Regions from separate parts of the Homo sapiens genome. Here regions 2 and 3 are each linked to region 1. Evidence: promoter capture Hi-C in 16 types of primary human blood cells and fetal thymus (Javierre and others, 2016). All regions are on one chromosome and are shown on one strand. Each heading gives the region's core, a stretch centred on a gene start or on the middle of the fragment in contact. The rest is flanking DNA. Distances are from core to core; before and after follow the strand shown.

Region 1 (3,780 bases), core at 1,093-3,592:
TTAAAAAAAGGATGTCTCAAGATGGCGTGCTCGCCTCCCTGAGTCAGGCTGCCCAAGCGCATGGTGGGGTTCTTGGTCATGAACTGAGTGAGAGAGAGAGAAAGTGTCAATCATTCATTCACATACAACCAGCACGTCACAAGACAGCAGGCATCAGCCATGGCAGAGGAGCTGTGCGAGACTTTCTGGCAGGTCTTGCTTAACTAGCTGGGTTTTCCATCACAGGCAGCACAGTCAGTATGAATCATGCCTTAAAGGCGCGATTGCCTGTGTGGATTTATGGCTTTTCCCACTTCCATTTCAGACATGGCCACTAAAAGAAAGCAGGAGGGTCCAGTTTTCTTTTCTGTAAACACCATGTATTTTTCTTTCCTCTTTAAAGAAAAGAAGCTCTTTATAACAGTGTGCCTTTCCCCAACACTGCAGTTGTGGGCAGCAGACATCTTATGAATGGGGCTACTTTCAGAAACAGCTGTGCCATTTTTCTGAGTGACCTGACCAGCTGGCCAGGATTCCTGCTCTCTGACGAGACCACAGAGAGGAGAGAGAGTCGTTATTTTTGAAGATCTGTGTGAAGAAGCAGCAAAGGTGACATACTGAAAAGGTCTGTGTCCTGGCTCTAGAAAAAACAAAGTTGGCCACTTTTCTTTATGCAGCGAAGATATCATAGCTCTAGATGAAAGGCTTTTCTTCAAGATGTTCCCCCCACCACTGCTGTTTCGAAGTAGGTTCAATGACTGAGATTCCATTGCTCCATAGACCAAAAACTAAAACGAGCGCTGCCACACAGCTAAGCGATGTGTGCATAGAGATTCTCTGTATTTCCATCAGTTGGGAAACTTCCTTAGTGCTGGGCTCCTATCAAAATATGCTGGGCTAAATCTGCTTTCACAAAATAGCCAGGAAAGGTGTTTTGATCACTTCCTGAGCAAGGATTAGTACAGGATAATTCACTTTTCATGGCCGGAGTGTGGTTCTCAATTTCAAAGACACTGAAGCTAATTTAATTTCCCATATTGAAAGAAAATTGCCTTGGATAAAAAGTTTTGTTTTTGTTTTTATTTAAATCAGGTTATCTTTAAATAGACTCATGACAGTCCCCAAGCACCTCTTTCCAAATCTGATTTGTGAACAACACAAAAGTAATGCTGTGTTTATAAAAATTGTTTTGGAGCTGAATTTACAGAGAAAATCTTGTTGAAGGTGCAGACACGGAAAGACAGTGTTTGGAGGTACCTCCCACTGCCATGCCAGGTGTCCAGAGGTGTCAAGCTGCCAGTGTTGATTCAAATGAAAATGATAATGTTGAAGAAGGAGGCTGCAAAAGTTCCTAAGCAACCTGACGGGATATACCTTGTAAAATGCTTTCAAAAAAGCTTCAAAGGGCAGCTAATAAATGAATATACTGACAGGGTTTAATCGCTTCTCCTCTCTCCTAGTAACAGGAATTAAAGGCCACAGGTGGTTCTGGGTTGGAGGCAGGACCCAAAAGTAAATGCAGCATTCAGAGCTGCACAGGCCCAGTCAGAGCAGCTGCCACTTCAGGCACTTACAGTGGTCACCCAGGATTCAGGAGATGCATATTATAAGTAACTCAGTTCTGTAAGAGCTAGGAGTTAGTTCACACTGCTTGGGCTCTCACTAAGTAAGCCTGTGCAATGCAGGCAGGAAGGGAGAAAATGCTTACAAAAAAGAAATGAGTAGATTCTTGCCTTAGGAAAGTCAACGGGATACAATTCCTGATGGAAGAGCAGTTGCTATTCTAAGAGCTAATTAACAAGAAACAATGCTGCAAAAAACTTGGGAGACAGGACGGCAGAACACACCCAGATGGCCTGTGGGAAATTCCCAGGCCTGCCAATGATGTGAGAGAGGACATCTTGTGAATGGGTGGGTACAGCCTGTTCTTCTGGGCAAGACAAACAGTGCAGGACTCTATATGCCAGGGTGGCTGAAGCCCCAGTGTCCAAGAGGCTTGCCCATTCCTCCCTGCCCCTGGCACTGAACCCAAGCTTCCATGGGGCACTGTGGAAGAGGCCTTGCCTGACGACAAGTAGACCAAACACGACCGTCCGTCCTCTAAAAACTGCACCCTTGGAATTGGGGACAGGCAGAATAACCCTTTCACTAGCTTGATACTTAGCCTCTTGGGGTTCTGATAAATCCTTTTGAATAACCAAGCAGTTTTGTTTTTAATACCTTGGCCTGAGCCCTTTAGATGCAGCCATCCTCAACTTACAAAAAAAACAAACCAAAAGAAAAAACAAAACACACACACACACAAACAAACTTTGATTCAATTGACAAAGGTTTTCAAGGTGTCTACTACATGTAAGGCAGCACACTAGGGGTTTCTTGGGGATACGCAGATGACAAAGACAGTGTCTCTTCATCCAGGAGCTAATCAAGAGAAGGGGGAAGAATCAAGCAAACTTCATAATACACAGCCGGATGAAATGAAAAGAGACTTAGATCAAGTGCTGTGAGAGCTTGGAAGAGGCACGGGGCAAATAACACTGGGGCTGGTGGTGGGAAGGCAAGTGACAGCCTCGTGGAAGAGGTGGCATTTGACCAGAGATGAGGACGAACAGAATTAACATAGTAGGCATGAAGGAAGAAAATGCGCCTGAGGACACAGCCAGCACAAATGCAGAGGCATACAAGTGCCTGGTACAGCTGGCATGCAGGGATGGCTGAGGAACTGCGGGGGCAGCCGGTGGGATCCATCCGAGGTGAGTGATGAGAGCTGCACGGCAATTTAGGGGATGACACTAGCCACAGCGTGATGAATAAATCTTAAATGCAGAGGTAGCGCCTGGTGGTGAGCAGTTAGAGGCTGAGACAATAGCTGAGAACACATGACAAGTTCAGCAACTAGGAGAGTTTCTAGTTAATTGGAAGGAAGAGTTGGAAGCACATTCTAGAGGGCCGTGGAAGAATAAACACAATCCACTAACTGCCGGGAATGGGAGTGAAGAGTCCAAGATCACAGGGTCCTCCCTGGCTGCCTGATGGGGCAGTGGTGTTGAGTAACAGAAATGGAACAAAAGAGGGGCAAGAGATTATTCTTTGTAGCATGAGTATTAGTAGCAGTGTTAGTAGTAGTAGTATTTTTGTTAGTGGAACAAAGACAAAAATAGCTCACACTTACTGAGATCCTACAGTCTGCCAAATCTGGGAGGCTGATGGGCTCCGCTTTGCATTGGAGGTGTGTGGGCACCCACATGCAGATGAATTCTAGGGTAAATCTGGGGTGCAGGCCAGGGCTGGCCATCTAACGCTCAGAGACATTGAAATTTGAGTAACCACTGAAGCTGGGAGGGCAGGTTAGATTGTGGAAAGTGACAGAGACAGACTAGAACTGATACCAGCCCTAGGTCTCAGACACATTTTATTTGGCCTACCTAGTGTGTTTTGAAATAATTTTAATTACTTCTCAAATATTTAAACGCTAGGAAATGTCACATCACATGAAAAGTCAGGTTTTCCAACTTCTCGTGGAAAATGAGATACTCGGGAACACTGGGCCTGCACTCCTCTCATAGAAACGGCCTGGAGTTGAGCAGGGGCTTCTGCTTTTCATGGGGCACCAGATGCCCAGTCAGTCACATGCCCCACCACTCCCTATCACCTCCCACCTGGCTGGTATCACTCACGGACTTTCATGGCTCCTGACCCCTGGTGTAGGGTGAGAAGCAGCCAGAGTGGCAGCTGGAGGATGCCATGAAGAGGCCAGAGGAGGATGAATACCATGAAACAGAAACCAGGACCGGGAGAAGG
Region 2 (3,496 bases), core at 236-2,735, 540 kb before region 1:
GCCAAAGATGACTAAGGGCGCACTCGGCGTGAATTACAATGGGCCCAGGGAGCACAGTCACGGATGAGATCCCTGCATTAGGAACTGACATATTTGTTTCAAGAGCTGTCTCCATTCAATATTTCCTCTCTAAAGGCAAAACGGACAAAGACGTTATTACTAGTGTAAATCAAACCCTCTAAGATACAAGGAGAGTTAATAATACATTCAATATAGACTCAAATTCCCCCCTGTGTAATCTGTGCTTGGATGTTTCTAAGGAACCCCTCCACTCCAGGCCTGAGGTTTGTTTCTGTTCTCTGCAGCTCCTTGATGAATATGGCAATACAGGAGGCGTTGTGTCTTAACTATAAAAGAAATGACCACTGGACGTCTACCCCCACATAGAACATTTGGCTCCTAGTTCTGCTTAAGGTTGTTAAATATATGCCAGGTGCCAAATTTTGCCTTTTAAAGAAATAACTTACATTACAAATGAGCACGTTTACAACTGTTTGAGAAAAAAGACAACACATGGGTTGTGGGTCTCAGCGACCTGGCAGGCACCAAGTGAGCCCAGGAGAACCTGAGCTTTCTGTCATGTTTATTCATGGGCACGCTTCTCCTGAGCACCTACACTTCCCCACCAGGCACGGGCACATCGGGAGGAGGAGCACAAAACTGAGAAGGACACTGATTGTCCCTCAAGGCACGGGAGTAGGAATCGACCCTGTGGGGGCAGGCAATCCTGTCCCCCTGAAACACCATCTCCTCCACCAGAAACAAGGGCATTAGACTTGACTTAAACCTTTCTTCTCAATGTTTGAAATCATTTCTTCAAATTTCTGACCAGAAACTCAATAATTAGAACCAATAAAAGGAATCAAATATTCTGCCCATCTGCAGGAAAGTATCCTGTTTACCAAACCACAGACATTTCTGCAGAGCGCCCCCCACCTAACCTGAGGCTGTATGGAACATAGTTTGTAAACGGCAGGGCTAGGTGGTCGTGATAGATGTCTTACAGACCCTGCTGTCTAGAAGATAAAAATTCAACAATGAAATATTTGCTTACTCTTAAGTGAGACTCACTCCCCCTCCTGTGCTCCTATAAAAGCTTCCCGCTGTGGCACCTGTCACTCACTGCTTGCCTCTCCCATCAAATTCTGAATCCGTATAAATCTCTCAGTCCCTGGTGCATAGCCTAATGTCTGGCACATAACTGTGCTCAACAAATAACTGGTGAATGAAAGACTTCCACCTGCAAAGTTCTTTTACACTAGCTCATTTTCCCCATTCAACTCCGTGCCACCAGCACACAGCATAGGGCCTAGCAAGCATAAATATGGGTGTGATCATCCCCATTCCCAAGCTCTATCACGCAGGATCCCTTCTGATCTCCACTGCATTCTGTTTTCCATCATTTCCGATGTGCTTTACTCAGATATTAAGAAAAAAGGGAGATCTGAGCAGAGCTGAGACATCATCTGGCTTATAACTTTAAAAAGCTCATTCTGGCTCCCATGTCCAGAAGAGTCTGTAGAGGCAAAGGCAGAAGTGGAAAGACCACCGCTGAGCAGCTATTTCAGTAATCCAGCAGAGAGCCAGGTTCTGGTTGTACCTGAAGATAGAGCCAATAGGATTTCAGGTGGAAAACAGAAAAGTCACAGATGACTTCTGAGATTTTTGACCCCAGCAATTGGAAGAATGCAACTGCCTTTAAGCAACATGGAGAAGACTGCAGGGGGAATAGATTTAGGGAGGCAAAAATCAGGATTTCAGGCCTGAAGACGTTAATTTTGAGACATCATTGGACATTTAAGCAGACAGATCTGCCACCACTACAGTCCAGACTTTCTGTCTCCTTTGTTCTTCCTCAGATATGACAAGCTTCCCCACTCCCCCGGCCACCCCACATCCTGACTGCTTGCATGTGCTGTTCACTCTGTCTGGAACTCTCATCCTCCTCACAGCACCAGCCTCGCTCTCTCGATGCTTTGAGTTCCGGCGTTTTATCACCACCTCAAAGAAACTTTCTCTGATCCTCTAAACAAGCGGCAGCCTATCACTCTGTCTCCTTGCCTACTTGGCCACCACTAGACTGCAAGCTCTCCAAGGGCAGAGGCATCGCCTGCTTAGTTCTTTCCTGCATCCACTTTGCCTATACCATAATTGACAGTAAACATCTCTGAATGAATGACTGATTGAATCCAGAGCCTACAGAGCTCCCTGATCTGTTAACGTGGTTTTGTAAAAGGAGATGGGCATACTACATGACATATAACCCACAGCAGTAGTGAGCTGCCCATCCTGTAGGCATGTAAATTATGACACCTTTCCTTGAAACCCTGTGGCAAGCAGGGAAATGGGGTATGAGGGAAGACGGTAGTAACACAAATGAAAGGTTTCAGAAGCAGCTGAAGTTCTGGGCTGCTCTCTCAGTCTGCCCCAGCATACCCGTTAAGAACCTTGCCCAGAAAGTCCCATCTCTGAGATTCATCATGATGCAGATTGGGGGCAGGAGGAGTAGGATCAGTTATCCACAATCCAGAGGGCCAAGCCACCTTCCCTGTTTTTCTCCATGCCCTCTACCACACTGCTGCTATTTTGTCCTAAAATGGACAGGGCATTTATCCATCAGGTTATCAGGAAGACAGGCATGAAAGACCCATTGTACCATGAAGTGCAAATCATGGCTTACAAGGGTGAGGAGAGCCAAATGGAAAATTAAATTAAAGTCTCTGAATTCACAGACTGAACGTACTAAATCAAGGGCTGACAATCCCAGGTCTTCGAACACACCACATCATTAGCAGCACCATTTAACATACTCACGCTTATATTACTTCTTGGCTCCAGAACCAGAGTCACTTTCATTTCCCCTTCTGGGTGCAGGTGGCTGAGATAGAATAGTTTCTCTCCCATCATTCTCTCTCGGGTCATCTTCCGGGCAGCGTACAGGCGGAAGCGGACAGCACAGGCAGCCACATCTCTGGGCTCCAGCTTGGCAAAGGTGACCTTCTCCCTGAAGACGGGGTTGGGCCCTCTCTGTATGTTCGTCCTGCCCCTGTGTTTCTTACCAGGCAGCAGCACTACATGAACTTGCCAGGAGTTGACACCACTTCGGTCCTTATCTGGGAGGCCCTGTGCCCTCACAATGGTCACTGTGAGCTTCTGGCTGGCGGCTCTATATTCAAAGATGACATCTAGGTCACCACACTTTGAGATGGGCTCTGAGACCCCGGATGGCACCTGCAAATTGGTCCTGTCCTGTTCCTGTTGCAGGCAGAGGAAACAATTAGAAATGGAAATGATGATACCCAATTACATTTTGGCCAGTTGGTGCCCCTTTGTGCTCCTTCAGAATCCCTGCTTTCTAACTGCCAGTGTATTCCCTCTATATCAGATAGGTCTGTTTACTGGTCTATCGCTGCATTAAACTGTGAATTCTTTGACGGCAAAGTGCCTAGCATATGGTGCGCCTTCGTGAATGTTTTTGGAATGGATAACTAAAGCT
Region 3 (3,958 bases), core at 1,288-3,787, 550 kb before region 1:
AATTAAGTCATAAGTAAAATCCCATGCTCATAACCATACAAGATCAGTATTCTGAATGGCACATGCCCAGATTGCAAGTAGTGACTAATATATGTTGCTGCAAATGCCATAAAAAAATGACAGTTATAGGCACTTCAAATGCTCAAAGAAAAACTTAATGTCATTCCACACAAGCTGAAAATATTTCTCCATTCACAGGTGTTATAACATGTTCACTTTGAAGAGTCAATCAAATCAATATTTATTAAGGACTCACTGTGTACAATTTACTATGCTCTAGTGATGGAAAATACTCAGTTTAAAAAGAGCATGGTTTACATGCAGTACATTCAAAATATTCATATATGAGTATATATAATTGAACATAGAAAAAGGATAATCCAAAAGAACACCAGAAGCAGAAAAAATCAATAAATCTATGACTGCAGTAGTCTTGTTTTTTGTTTTCTTATTCTGTAAGAACTTATTGGGTGAGAAAGACAGCATAAAAACCTTGAAAGTCACAAGTTTGAAATCTTACATATTCAAAAGGAGACAAGTTGTCTTAAAACAGTAGTTTCTGAACTCTTTTCTTGCTTCAAAATGATTCATCTAACCAAATCTCATAGAAACCACAAAATATAAGATAAAAGAGGTATTTAATTAATACAAATTTATTTTAAAAGTGCAAGTTTATAATATTTACTCGTTAGGTAAATAGGTTTCTTTGATAAAGAGAAAAATGTGAAATAAGAGTTTATGGATTAGAGTTTGATTCTTTTATGAGGCTCAGCATCTGATTCATATCTATATTTTGGAGTTTTTTGTACCATATTAAGAAAATTCTGATTCATCCACCTAAATGGTTGCAAATAGTAACAATTAACAGCTCCCTTGCAATCTCAGGTTACTCTTCAAGCAAACAGAGACAGCAGAAGAAGCTTCACCCCATACCCTGAACTAAAACTCAATGATCTATTGGCACAAATTAACTCATCAGTGGTCTTAATTGTGGTATAATATTTTCCATACGGACACTTCACTGTGTATGTGTGTTTTTAAAATTACAATATTTAAATCCAAATCAGACCATTGAGAAACCCAAAACTCCCACTCACAATGTCCTAGGGGTTAGTGGAATCTGTTTTTGAAACCCTGAAACCCTTGCCAGGACACTTAGTGTCAGTAGACAGCAACACAGGTAACCAAGGTGGACACAGCACACAAATGCAGGTTAGCAAACCTAGGATTCCAGCAAAGTGTGCCATCTGCAGATCTGCTGGCCTTTGGTTTCCTTCATCTCCTCCCAGTGATCTTGTTCCTCCTCTCCACTGCTGTTCTGGCCCAGGGCAATCCAGCCAATCATCTCTTTACGCTTCATAGTACGCCTGTTATAAACGGAAATCATCAACGTGACATCAGACAGCTGAAAGAGGGCCACCTGGAAAACAAAGGTCTCCTTATAGACAGGATTGGGCTGACCACGCCGAATGGACGTCTTGCAACGGGACATCTCTTGACCCACAGAATTGAGGAGAAAGAGTTTTCCATATGTATCTAAGACAAAAAAAAAAGGGTGGGGTGGGGATGATAAGAAACATTAGTGCTCTCTGTTTGGCTAGACTAGCTGTAACATTTATATGGGCTACAAATTTCTCCTTTCAACATACTGATCAGTATCCTTAAGCCTGGTTCTTGCTGTTGGGCAACACATCTTGCATGAATTATTAAGGAAGGGAATTATTACCTTGAATACCTAATGTTTCATGTGGCTCACTATCCAGCACACATTGCTGATGTTCATTAGTACTTCTACATGCACAGGGTGTATACATTCGTGCACAGGCATACGTGCAATGGTGCTTGTGGGCAGGCACAGTTCTTCATCTACATTTATTTATGTAACAAGATAAATATACACATTTTGCTCTACATGATTTTTTCATAGTCAAATTGCTATTTTATGCCTGAATTGGAGAATTCTTTTCTCACTCTCTACATATTCATATGTCTGTGTATGTGTGTGTGCATGTGTGTGTGAGTGAGAGAGAGACAGACAGACAGACAGACAGACACACAAGGTCTTGCTCCGTTGCCCAGGCTGGGGTGCAGTGGCATGATCACAGCTCACTAAAGCCTTGACTTCTGGGCCCAAAGCGATCCTACCCCATCAGCCTCCTGAGTAGCTGGAACCACAGGCATGCACCATCATGCCCAGCTAATTTTTTAACTTTTTGTAGAAATAGGGTCTCCCTATGTTGCCCAGGCATCTACATATCCTTTGGACCATCTCATCCACTCCCATAGTTTCAATGACATCTACCAAGTCCACAGGTCTGGCCTCAACTTCTCTCCCAAACTCGAGATCCAGCTGAATACTACACTTCTTCTCTTGAAATCTTACACTAATCTTACATTCAATATGCCCCCAACTCTAAACATTTGCTGTTCCAGTGTTCCCTATCCCTGTGAATAGCAGCATCATTCACCAAATTATCCAAGTCAGAAATCAGGACCTCATTTTTCACAAGACTGACTTCCTCATTCCCAGTCCACCCAATCAGTTGCCACATTCTGTTGATTCTAACTCTCAAACAGCTCCCAAATCTACCCACTTCTTTCCATCCCCAGTGCCTCTGAACTCTGTGTACACTGCAAGCTCAGGGTGCCAGCATTTCTCACCTTTATTACCTCACGTTTCCTCACTGACCTTCTAGTCAGGGGACTGCCAGAGCAATCTCTGTGAAATACAAATCTGGCCATGTCACTCTCACTAATAAACACAAACAAAGTCTTCAATACTTCCCACTAGTCTCAAGATGAGAGCTCAATTTCTTGGTGTAGACTGTCTTCTTTGGCCCTATCTTCTAGTCTCATTGCTTACCACTGCTGCCATTATACACTGCATTCTACTACATTGAACTTCCTCCCCTCCTCCAACCCAATTTGTTCTTTTTCCCTGTCTCATCTGTACATGTTCCCCATGCTCTGACATCCCCACTAATACTCAGCCTCATATGACTTTTGTTCATTAAGTTCAATCTGGATATCACTTTATCTGGGAATATTTGCTGACCTTTCTGACCTTTTTCTCTCACTCCCACCAGTTCAGATAACCCTCTTATAGTCTCCACTAAAACCTAGTTTTAGCCTGTCTCAGCACTTATCACCAGTATTATCGCTGCCTATTTGTCTGCAAAGATGCAGTTTTCCAGTGGTAAAGAGAGGGATTTCCTTATTAACCATTGAACCCCTGATGCTTAGCTCGTGACTACCATGTGCTAGACCTTCAATAAATATTTTGTAATGAATGTTCATGTCTAGTCAGGAAGCTCAACTTTTTCTTTCAGTCTCAAGTTTTCAAACTTGTGCAATAAAGCTAAACCTCCTCATCGTAGAACCCCTCCACTAGAGTGCCAGAAAACAGTGACTAGCGTCAATATAGAAAGGAAAGAAAGCACTCAAATTTTACTAACATGATCTCCTTTTGCTAAAATTCCTGAATGGAACCATCATAAAATAATTATCTCCTCAATCACATTTTTATTAAAATCAATTTATAAATGTCTTGACCTTTATCTGCAACTTTTACTACTAACATGCACACATTATTCTCCTTAAAACTCAAAATGTTAGGGTGTTTCCCAAATTCAATCATTCTGTACATTCTGTTCAATGCAGGCAGCAAGCTGATTAGTGTTTACTGCTCATTTTCCCACCTAACGACCAGTCAAACTTTTTAAAGCGTAAACGCAGATCTCTGTAATTTACTGTTCTCTCCAAAAGCATTGTAAGATAGGAAACAAATTACAACCTGCAGTTTTCTTTCTATGTTGATCTTTTTCTATTTCAGTTTGATGTGTTATTTTATGCACTTATCTGCTGAGAAACACAAGGTGTGAAATTACACTTCAGGTGTGAAAACACTTCTCTGTCTCAGAAACAGGGCTCTCTTCTCTTCAAACTGTTCTACAGAAAA

The links. Contacts are between HindIII fragments. The CHiCAGO score rates a contact against its expected background, and 5 or more counts as called.
Region 2: a contact is called between a fragment that was not itself captured here and the fragment with the promoter of PRKCH-AS2 in region 1, in 1 of 17 cell types (total B cells). The highest score is 5.8, in total B cells.
Region 3: a contact is called between a fragment that was not itself captured here and the fragment with the promoter of PRKCH-AS2 in region 1, in 1 of 17 cell types (total B cells). The highest score is 5.5, in total B cells.

The regions. Positions count from the first base shown.
Region 1 is chr14:61,544,046-61,547,825 of GRCh38, reverse strand. PRKCH-AS2 (PRKCH antisense RNA 2) reads left to right here and starts at 2,342. Exons shown (of 3, transcript NR_188139.1): 1 at 2,342-2,732. It overlaps PRKCH (protein kinase C eta), which reads right to left. Exons shown (of 14, transcript NM_006255.5): 13 at 1-83. The HindIII fragment of the contact is 1,799 bases long and covers 2,015-3,780 here.
Region 2 is chr14:62,080,593-62,084,088 of GRCh38, reverse strand. SYT16 (synaptotagmin 16) reads right to left here. Exons shown (of 8, transcript NM_001367656.1): 6 at 2,815-3,255. Among named protein-coding and RNA genes, the nearest start is that of LINC00644, 58 kb to the left of the region's middle. RefSeq lists an enhancer at 2,898-3,017. The HindIII fragment of the contact is 773 bases long and covers 1,099-1,871 here.
Region 3 is chr14:62,097,972-62,101,929 of GRCh38, reverse strand. SYT16 (synaptotagmin 16) reads right to left here. Exons shown (of 8, transcript NM_001367656.1): 8 at 1-1,536. The coding sequence ends at 1,223. Among named protein-coding and RNA genes, the nearest start is that of LINC00644, 40 kb to the left of the region's middle. The HindIII fragment of the contact is 3,229 bases long and covers 923-3,958 here.